Regions from separate parts of the Homo sapiens genome. Here region 2 is linked to region 1. Evidence: promoter capture Hi-C in 16 types of primary human blood cells and fetal thymus (Javierre and others, 2016). All regions are on one chromosome and are shown on one strand. The core of a region is centred on a gene start or on the middle of the fragment in contact, and the rest is flanking DNA. Distances in the headings are between cores, read along the strand shown.

Region 1 (4,889 bases), core at 454-2,953:
CTCCCCCTTCTTGGTTTCCAAACGCCTTTATCACTCCATTCAGCCTTAGGCCAAATTCTGGATGCTTTTACAGGTGTTTTTCACGTGTAAAATGTGCATATCTATCTCCTAGGAGTATCGTGGAGATGGAATGGGATATGTAAAGTGTGCTGTATATAGCAACTGCATCATTAGAGCATCTTTCAACAGAAGTGCACATCCCCTCATAGCTGATGACTGGCATTTCCTGTTCATTTTTTTCCTTCTACCTCTTAACCTTACTGACGATGCTTTCAATACAAATCTAATAATAACGGCAGCTAACATTTATCATGTGCTCAAATTAAGTCATTTCATCTCCCCAACAATCCTATCAGGTAGGACTGTCATCTTCATCTCCTGAGCCTTGGAATCATATTAGGCAGCCTGGCTTCAGAGCCCAGCACTTTTTGTGTTTTTGTTTTTGTTTTGACAGGATCGCATTCTGTCTCCCAGGCTGGAGTGCAGTGATGTGATCACATAGCTCACTGCAGCCTTGACCTACTGGGCTCAAGCAGTCCTCCTACTGCAGCCTTCTAGTAGCTGGGACTATAGGCACGCCATCATACCTGGCTAATTTAAAAAAAAAAATTTTTTTTGGAGAGATGGGTCTCCCTATGTTCTCCAGGCCGAACTCGGAACTCCTGGCCTCAAGCGATCCTCCCACCTCGGCTTCCCAAAGTGCTGGGACTACAGGCGTGAGCCACCGCGCCCGGCCCTGAGCCCAGCTCTTAAGCACGCAGTCCAACACGTTTAGCTGGAGAGACGCCGGGTCACTTCTTGGGCCATACCCTCTCATCACAAACTCAGGTTTCTCTTAGAAATCACTCTTAGTGTCCGCAGTGCCTAGGACTCCCGCCTTGGATCCTGGGGCCCACGAGAAGGTAATTTAATTCACCCAGATAGAACCAGCCCAATCGTGTCCCTCTGAACCCCGTGAACTTTCACCCCGGCTGAGCAGTAAGTCTGCACCGCTGTCCCTTTCTTTGTGGTCTCAGGGCTAATCCAAAGTGACAATTTCCTAAGAAGCAGTACGGGGTTTTTTGTTTGTTTGTTTTTTGTTTTTGAGACGGAGTCTTGCTCTGTCACCCAGGCTGGAGTGCAGTGGTGCGATCTCGGCTCACTGCAACCTCTGCCTCCCGGGTTCAAGCAATTCTCACACCTCAGCCTCCCAAGTAGCTAGGATTACAGGCGCACACCACCACGCCTGGCTAATTTTTGTATATTTTTAAGTAGAGACGGGGTTTCACCATGTTGGCCAGGCTGGTCTCGAACTCCTGACCTTGTGATCCGCCCGCCTCAGCCTCCCAAAGTGCTGGGATTACAGGCATGAGCCACCGTGCCCGGCCCAGGTATTCCTAGAAGACATAGGACCCCATGAATCCTTGCAGGAGAGCACGTAAACTGGACTCCTAAGCCCGCCCCAGAGCCCCGGCGCTAGTGCTCGAGGCTGGGACACTGCTAGGTGCACACAGCCGCGGCCTGGCGCAGGCGGTGCGGACAGAGGGTATGCCATGGCGAGACGCTGGCGCGGCGCAGGCCCTGCCGGCCGGGACACGGAGGGCGGGGCACAGGCGCAGCAGGAAGGGGGCGTGGCCAAGAGCCGCCCGGCCGCTCCCCCGCCCCTCCCCCTCCGCTCTCCGCCCCAGCCCGGCGGCTCCGCCCCCTAGGTGACGTCACTGGCCAGGCCAGCCGGCGCCATTTTGAAAGTGGAGTCGCCTGCCCCTGCCGCTGCCGCCGCCGCCGTCGCTGTCGTAGTCGCCGCCGCCGCTGCCGGAGAAAGAGCACGAGCGGGGAAGCCCCAGAGTGAAATCTAGCATCCTGCCGGCTGGTCTGCCCGCCCCTCCTTCCTTTTCCCCCCGGCCCCCGTCCCCTCCCCCCGCAGGTGCCATCCGCCGCCATCCGCCCTCTCTACCCCCCCATCCCCAGGTGAGGGGGGTGAGTTCAGGAAGCGGAGACCCCGAGGAACCCAGCAGGGTCACCATTTGCAGCGCAACATGGCAGGTAAAGGAGAAATCCCCCTCGCCCCCTGACAAGGCACCGCTTCCTTATTCCTCCCTCCATCACCCCCTAGCGACCGCCCGCGCCTCGCGCAGAGCCACAGGGCGCCCCTCGGGTTTGAGGGAGTAGGGTCCAGAGGGGTGGGGTGGGGGCGGGGAGGGCTCCCGGGAGGCAAGTGGTCACGGTGAGAGTCACTGGGCTTGGAGAACGGGGCTGGCGCCGTGGCGGGGGTGGGGGTGGGGTGTGCCGGCGAGCTTGGGGTGAGGCGTGGGTGGGGCGGGGTGGGGGTGCGTGCAGATTTGTCCCTCCCGCTCGGGAGCCTGGTGGATCTTCTCCCACCTCCCCACCTTGCCCCCCGCCTTTATTTTTTTTTCCTGCAGGTCTTCATTTAATTTCTATTTTTCCCCCTGCTGCAAGCCTTCTTGGGTGTATATACACATTTATTTTGCCTCGAGAAGGAAGAGCGCCTTATAAGTTAAAATACAGTGGGGGCATATGTGTATTTTTTCCCCACTGTAGATGCCAATATTTTTGAGACTGGAAGCCTAAATTTTTTGTTTCGAACCATTTCGTTTCCGTTTCTTCCCTTTTACCGCCGAAGAGTGCAAGGCCTTTCATGTACAGCAAGTTGCATGAAAATAATTTAAACTTTGCGTTTAGCATGTTAGCTTTTTTGCAGATGTCCTTTTCCCAAAAGGGTTTGGTAGAGTTAGTTAAAATAGTTGCGGAGTTCAGAGATATAAATAGCAAGGAGGAGAGAGATTTAGGTAGAAGCTTTGAAGGGGAGGGGAAAGGATGTAGAGAGAAAACCAGTTTGGAAATAAATTTAGCAAGGAATAGGGGTGATGGGGGAGAGAGAAGTAATGTAATTGCTTTGAGAATTCTTTTTGTACATGTTGGTATTGCTAAATCTTTTCCTTCATGTAGTAGAATCAGTTGCAGATTTAGATTCAGTTTCTTTCTCCCTAGAGCCCCAGGACATTTTCAATCATTTCGACCTCAGTACTTGCACGTGAAATAGAAACATTCCGAGATGAGACCAGTTTTCCGTGCTGTATTCATTATTTAGATAATTAAACCTTTTGAAAAAGTTAACATGTCGGATTGACTTACGGTTTGCTATAAACAAGTTGCTTGTTGGCCTTGTTGAAAAATGAAATGAGATTAAAATTGTTTTGCACGAGATGACATTAGCAAAATGAATTCTTTGCCAGGTCCTTTGGAGTCAAGGGATGAGGTGAAGGGAGGCAGAACAAGCTTCCTTTGACAGTCTCTTTAGCAGCATTCATTTCGGTTTCTTTTCCTCTCTGTCTGGAGCCAGTGATTTGCTGGTAATGAATGCAAAGAAATGGGTGTAGTGTTTGCTGTGTGTGCACTTTGGTGATAAGGTTCATATGAATCATTACTCCTTACCCAGGCAGTAATGTTCCCGAAGTTTTCTCTTCGTTCTATGTTTCATGGTAGTTTAACCTTATTAACTCTTCTGCAGGCTTTTTGTACACTTAAGAAAACTCTTTAACTCTTGGTATTTACTTTTTTTCTGGTAGGTCTTGCCTGAATGTAAGGCTTTTACTGTATTTGACAGGAAGTTTGTGAACAGATGTTTAATGACCACAGAACATGTGCCTTTAAATATTTCGTACCTGGAATCTTTTTTTTCTTTCTAATGCAGTACCAAGTATTGGGGACTAACCTCTTTCCAAACTGGTGCTCTTGGTGGTAGTTGTATGTGTGGGCAGAACTAGGCTGTTAGTATCATGCCAACCATGGATACCATCTTTGTGTTTACGAGAGTCAACATAAGCAGAACTCGGTTTTAATTGGTATGTTTTCTTTTTCCAGGAGCTGGAGGAGGGAATGATATTCAGTGGTGTTTTTCTCAGGTGAAAGGAGCAGTAGATGATGATGTAGCAGAAGGTAAGAAAGCGTTTAATGCAAAATTTGGATATATAATTTTTGCAGAAATGTTTCCTACTGGAGGATTTCCTTGAAGCCGAGACTGCTATAAATTCAAGATGATTTTGTTGTCCAAGAAATGTAAGAACAGTTTTAAAAGATACCTTTCTGAAAAACAGCCTTAAATTTCATTTGTTATTTACGCCTTGTTTTTATTATTTTTTCCTCTGAATTTACATGGAAGGAGCGGTAGATGATGAGACATATAAGATCCTCACATGAAAGCTCTGAGCTCCATATAAGGGTTTCTTTGTTATGTAAATTCCACATACAAATAAATGGTGATGCATTTTTATGTTTGTACATTGGTTTTAGATAAGTAAATTGAAATAGGTGCCATCAACATTTGGCTCAGAAACATTCTTAACGGCATCTTTGATTTTTATGGGAAGATTTTTTAACTACTTTTGAATTTGTCCACTTTGGGAGTGTGATGCTGCTTGGCATATTCTGTGAAGAGATGATAGCTCAGATTATTCATTTTGTTGTCTTTCTGGTATTTAGGTGGATAAGACAGTAACAATGCTATGCATATATCGCTTGTCTTTTAGGAATCGTATATTCTTGTGCAGGTAGAAACTGTGTTTGATCAGTTGAAGTACTTACGTCTAATTTTCTCCCCAAATTTATTTTCTAACGTGTTTCAGAAGTTTAAGTTTTGAAACTTCAAGGTTTTGCATTCATTTGAGATGGTCTTAGGCAGCGGAGGCATTTTCCACAAAGTTGTTGCATTGTTTCATTCCTGAGAAATGTTGAAGTTTGAGTTTTAATGGTATTGTGTGTCTTGAATTACAGTAGGAATTTTCCAAACAAAACTCAGATAAATTTAAACATGTACTTGTGAGTTTTAAAAATTTGGTGAAAATTCATAAACCTTTTTTCCCTAGATTGTGTTGTCCTCATATTTCTGACCT
Region 2 (4,788 bases), core at 1,144-3,643, 790 kb before region 1:
AAATTTATATATTGAAGTCCTAACTCCCAGGATCTCAGAATGTGACTGTATTTGGAGATTTGGTCTTTAAAATAGTTATTAATTTAAAATGAGATCCATAGGGTGGGTCCTAATCCACTCTGACTGGTGTTCTTATAAGAGGAGGAAATTCGGACCCACATAAGGACACCAGGGACGAGTGTGCATTGAGAAATAACCATGTGAGGACACAGCAAGAAGGTGGCCATCTGAAGGCCAAGGAGAGAGGCCCCAAGAGACACCAGCCCTGCCAACACCCTGATCTTGCACTGCTAGCCTCCAGAACTGGGAGAAAATTAGTTTCTGTTGTTTGAACTACCTAGTTTGTGACATTTTATTACAGTAGCCTTACAAACTAATACATTACCCTTTGTCTAAGAAAGTAGAGTACACATATAGTTTTGATTTTTCAGTTGAAGAATAAACCAAAGAGAAATAAAAAACTGGCTATAGGGAGAAGGGAGGAGACAGGAGAGAATGTGAATGCAAGCTAGACTTCGTTAAGTGTGTACTGTTTTTCAGTTTTGATTGTGGGACCATTTAAATGTTTTACCTGACTATGAAACAAAACTAAAACTAGTAGAAAGAGAACAATCTCTAATAAGCGAAAGCAAAATTTGACAAATTCTTACTATGTCAAGTTGGTGGCTTAACTTCATTAAGAATTTTTTCAAACCTAGAAATTTGAATATAAGTGGGATAAATCTTTTTTTTTTTGAGATGGAGTCTTGCTCTGTCACCCAGGCTAGAGTGCAGTGGCGTGAGCTCGGCTCACTGCAAGCTCCGCCTCCCGGGTTCATGCCATTCTCCTGCCTCGGCCTCCCGAGTAGCTAGGAATACAGGCACCTGCCACCACGCCCGGCTAATTTTTTATTTTTTATTTTTTAGTAGAGACTGGGTTTCACCATGTTAGCCAGGATGGTCTCGATCTGCTGACCTCGTGATCCGCCCACCTCGGCCTCCCAAAGTGCTGGGATTACAGGCGTGAGCCACTGCGCCTGGCCCTATAAGGGGGATAAATCTTAAGGACAAAAATAACTGCAAAGAAATTATAAACAGTATGAAACACTCAATAGAAGCACTGAATTTAGAATAAAGCAAATAAGCAATTTTTCCCATCATTAAGAATCAAGATGTGCACTCAGAGACAAAAGATATATTTTTAAATCCAACAAATTTAAAACTTTGGAAGACTAAATTTGAATTGGAAATAAGAGTAGAAACTCATTTTATTTTCCATTTAAAAGAATTGTCCAGCTCTATCCATTGATAAAGCTTAAAATTCATGAGCATCCCTGGTGCATAGATTATCATTAGACATACCAGTTAAAAGGGGTTAGGGTCCCTTGGTGAAATGGCTGCTTTCAGATTTACAACAACAAATTTAATAAGTGAGCCTGGTTGGGTCTGTACCAGAGTACAAGGAAGGATGCTAAAAAAAACTACTGGTGTCATGTTAACAGACACAAATCCATCTTCAAGGGACTTACACTGACCAGATATGATCATCAGCATTGCAAAGCATTGAAGTACAATCATGAAATAACACATAAGTTTATTACTTTTTTTTAATTAATGGACACTTTAGAAGCTTGCTAGGATACCCACTCATTTTTCTGATAACAGGAAAATAAAATTTGAGCTCTATTTCAGGTAAACAAATAGTTGATGAGGGAAAAGTTGTTTATAGAAGAATTTCAGGTAATAAAAGAAATGCTCAACAAAGCTGCTTAAAACGTTTGATAAAAGGCTGATGTGACATAGTAACAATCAACAGAGGAAAGAAACACCGTATAGAATGGGAGAAGATACTGTAACTACAAACCATACATCTGATAAGGGGTTAATAGCCAAAATGTATAAGAAACTCAAACAGCTCATTAGCAAGAACACACCAATTTAAAAATGGTCAAAGGTCCAGAATAGACAGTTCTCAAAAGACATGCAAATGGCTAACATCACTAATCATCAGGGAAATGCAAATTAAAACCACAATGAGATATCACTGGCTATTATCAAGCAGATGAAAGATTACAAGTGTTGGAGAGGATATGGAGAAAAGGGAATCCTTTGTACACTATCAATAGGAATGTAAATTGCTACAGCCTGTTTTGATTGGCAAAGTCAACTAAAAATATAGAACTGAATCTCTAAACAAAATGTTTTATTTGGGAAAACGTAATTGCAGTTTGGGGCAAACACACAGACCGAGGTGGTCTTTGATATGTCCTAAGAACGTAGAAAGTTGGGGTTTTTAGTAGAAAAAGAAATGTTACATATTATTTAGAAAAAAAACTCACTGGCCCTAAGCAAAATTTTGGGGAGCTGGTAAACTCTGGTGAGTGATGGTGGTAGTTAAATTTAGTCTTACAGTCCCAAGTGCTTTTTTTCCCCTGGTCTCTGGACTCTAGTTGTTTATGACACAGTGACTCCAAATAATCCATTTTCACAAGCCATTGTGGGAAACATTACGGGGGTTCCTCAAAAAATTAAAAATAGAACTACCATATGATCCAGCAAATCCCACTTCTGGGTATGTATCCAAAGGAAATCAGTATATCAAAGAGCGATAACCAAGTTACAGACTCAAGCTGAGTATCCATCAACAGGTGAATGGATAAAGAAAAAATATGTGTGTACACACACAACAAAATGCTATTCAGCCTTAAAGAAATCCTGTCATTTTGACAGCATAGAAGGACCTTAAGGGCATTACGTTAAGTAAAATAGTCCAGGCACAGAGAGACAAGAAGATCTTACTTACATGTGGAATCTTTAAAAAATAAAAAATAAAAAAAAAAAAAACTCACAGAAGCTGAGAATAGAATGGTGGTTGTCAGGGGGGCTAGTGGCTTGAGTGGTGGGGGATGAGGAGATGTTGGTTCAAGGGTACAAAGTTTCAGTTAGGATGAGTAAGTTCTGGAGATCTGTTGTACAGCATGGTGACTAGGAAATAATAATGTATATGGGAAAATTGCTAAGAGATGACATTGTAAGTGTTCTTGCCATAAAATAATTATGTGAAGTGGTGGATATGTTAGTTTAATCATTTCCCAATGTGTACATATGTCAAAACCTCTCATCCACCATGCTATATGCAATTTTTAATTTGTTGGTTATACAATTGTATTCAAATTTGCCCATCAAAACTGAATCTAATCAAGCTTCTAGATCTAATTACCAATTTATAGGACATGGAGGAACATAGACTCACCTACTGTAGTGAGCCAAATCTAGGACTTGGCTAATTCTATAGGAAAAATGCCTCAATTTACTCACCAAATAAATGTCAAGGGAAGTAAAAAAGGAGCCATAGAATAAAAGAGACTAAAAGACATGAATCAAATGGTATGTGTGGAGATCTTATTGGGGTCCTGATTAGAACAGTTGTTTTAGAAAAAGAAATTATGGGCCAAGGGAGAAATTTGAACTTTGAGGAGATACTAGGGAAAATTGCCATCATGGTTTTTGTGTTTTGTTGAATTACATTTTGTTTTGTTTTGTTTTGTTGGAATGGAGTCTCGCTCTGTCGCCCAGGCTGGAGTTCAGTGGCACGATCTCGGCTCACTGCAACCTCCTCCTCCCCGGTTCAAGTGATTCTCCTGCCTCAGCCTCCCCAGTAGCTGGGACTACAGGTGTGCACCACCATGCTCAGCTAATTTTTGTATTTTTAGTAGAGACGGGGTTTCACTATGTTGGCCTGGCTGGTCTCAAACCCCTGTCCTCAGGTAATCTGCACCCCCCCCCCGCCCCCCAGGCCTCCCAAAGTGCTGGGATTACAGATATGAGCCTCTATCCCTGGTGTACATTTTAAGTTTTGTGATCATTTTGGATACACACACTCTTCTAAGAAGTAATGCAGAAAGATCCCAAGTACCCTTTACCTAGTTTCCCCCAATTGTGACATCTTGCGAAACCATAGTTCAGGGTCGCAGCCAAGATATTGATACAGCCGAGATCCAGACAGCTTTCCCATGGCCCTTTGTAGCTACATCCACTTCCTACCCATAACCCCGCCTCATCCCCTGGCAACCACTAATCTTTCTTCATTCCTACAGTTTTGTCATTTCGAAAAGGTTACCCAAATGGAGTCATGTACTGTGTAACTCGGGGACTGGCTTTTTCACTCAGCATAATTCTCTGGAGATTTGTCCAGGTTGTTATGTGTATCAGTAGTTCTTTTTATTGTTGAACCATATTTGTAATTGTCTCTAATAGAAAAAGAACCTTTAACTCTTCAAGACACTGCAGGATTTTCAGATGAAATGATGTGTAACGTCTGGGATTTGCTTTAAAATAATCTGGGGTTAGGGGAGTATAGATGAATCATGATTTCTATGTGCTAGTAATTGTTGAAGTAGCTGATGGGTACATGGGGTTCTGTACTTTTTGGGTGTTTGAAATTTTCCATAATCAAAAGTTAAAAATATAGCAGTATGAGCCCTTTATCAGAGAGAGGGAGCTAACTGCAAGAGCTAAAAGTGGAGCCAGCAGATAAGTAAGCACCAGGGGCAGGCAAGTGTGTGCTTGATCACCGTAACCTCTCCTATATGGTGTGATTTGTTGCCATGTCCATGAATTTTTTTTTTTTTTTTTTTTTTTTTTTTGAGACAGAGTCTCTCTCTGTCACCCAGGTGGAGTGCAGTGGCTCGATCTCAGCTCACTGCAGCCTCCGCCTCCCAGGCTCAAGTGATTCTCCTGCCTCAGGCTTCCCTAGTAGCTGGGAGTACATGGCTTACCACCACACCCAGCTAATTTTTGTATTTTTGG

The links. The method cuts DNA at HindIII sites, captures the fragments that hold promoters and counts their contacts. A CHiCAGO score of 5 or more calls a contact.
Region 2: a contact is called between a fragment that was not itself captured here and the fragment with the promoter of PPP2R2A in region 1, in 1 of 17 cell types (megakaryocytes). The highest score is 5.5, in megakaryocytes.

What each region holds. Positions count from the first base shown.
Region 1 is chr8:26,289,805-26,294,693 of GRCh38, forward strand. PPP2R2A (protein phosphatase 2 regulatory subunit Balpha) reads left to right here and starts at 1,704. Exons shown (of 10, transcript NM_002717.4): 1 at 1,704-2,022; 2 at 3,862-3,936. The coding sequence starts at 2,016. RefSeq lists a silencer at 1,506-1,855. The HindIII fragment of the contact is 3,300 bases long and covers 1-2,791 here.
Region 2 is chr8:25,494,698-25,499,485 of GRCh38, forward strand. All of the region lies in intron 13 of CDCA2 (cell division cycle associated 2), which reads left to right. Among named protein-coding and RNA genes, the nearest start is that of CDCA2, 38 kb to the left of the region's middle. The HindIII fragment of the contact is 1,573 bases long and covers 1,608-3,180 here.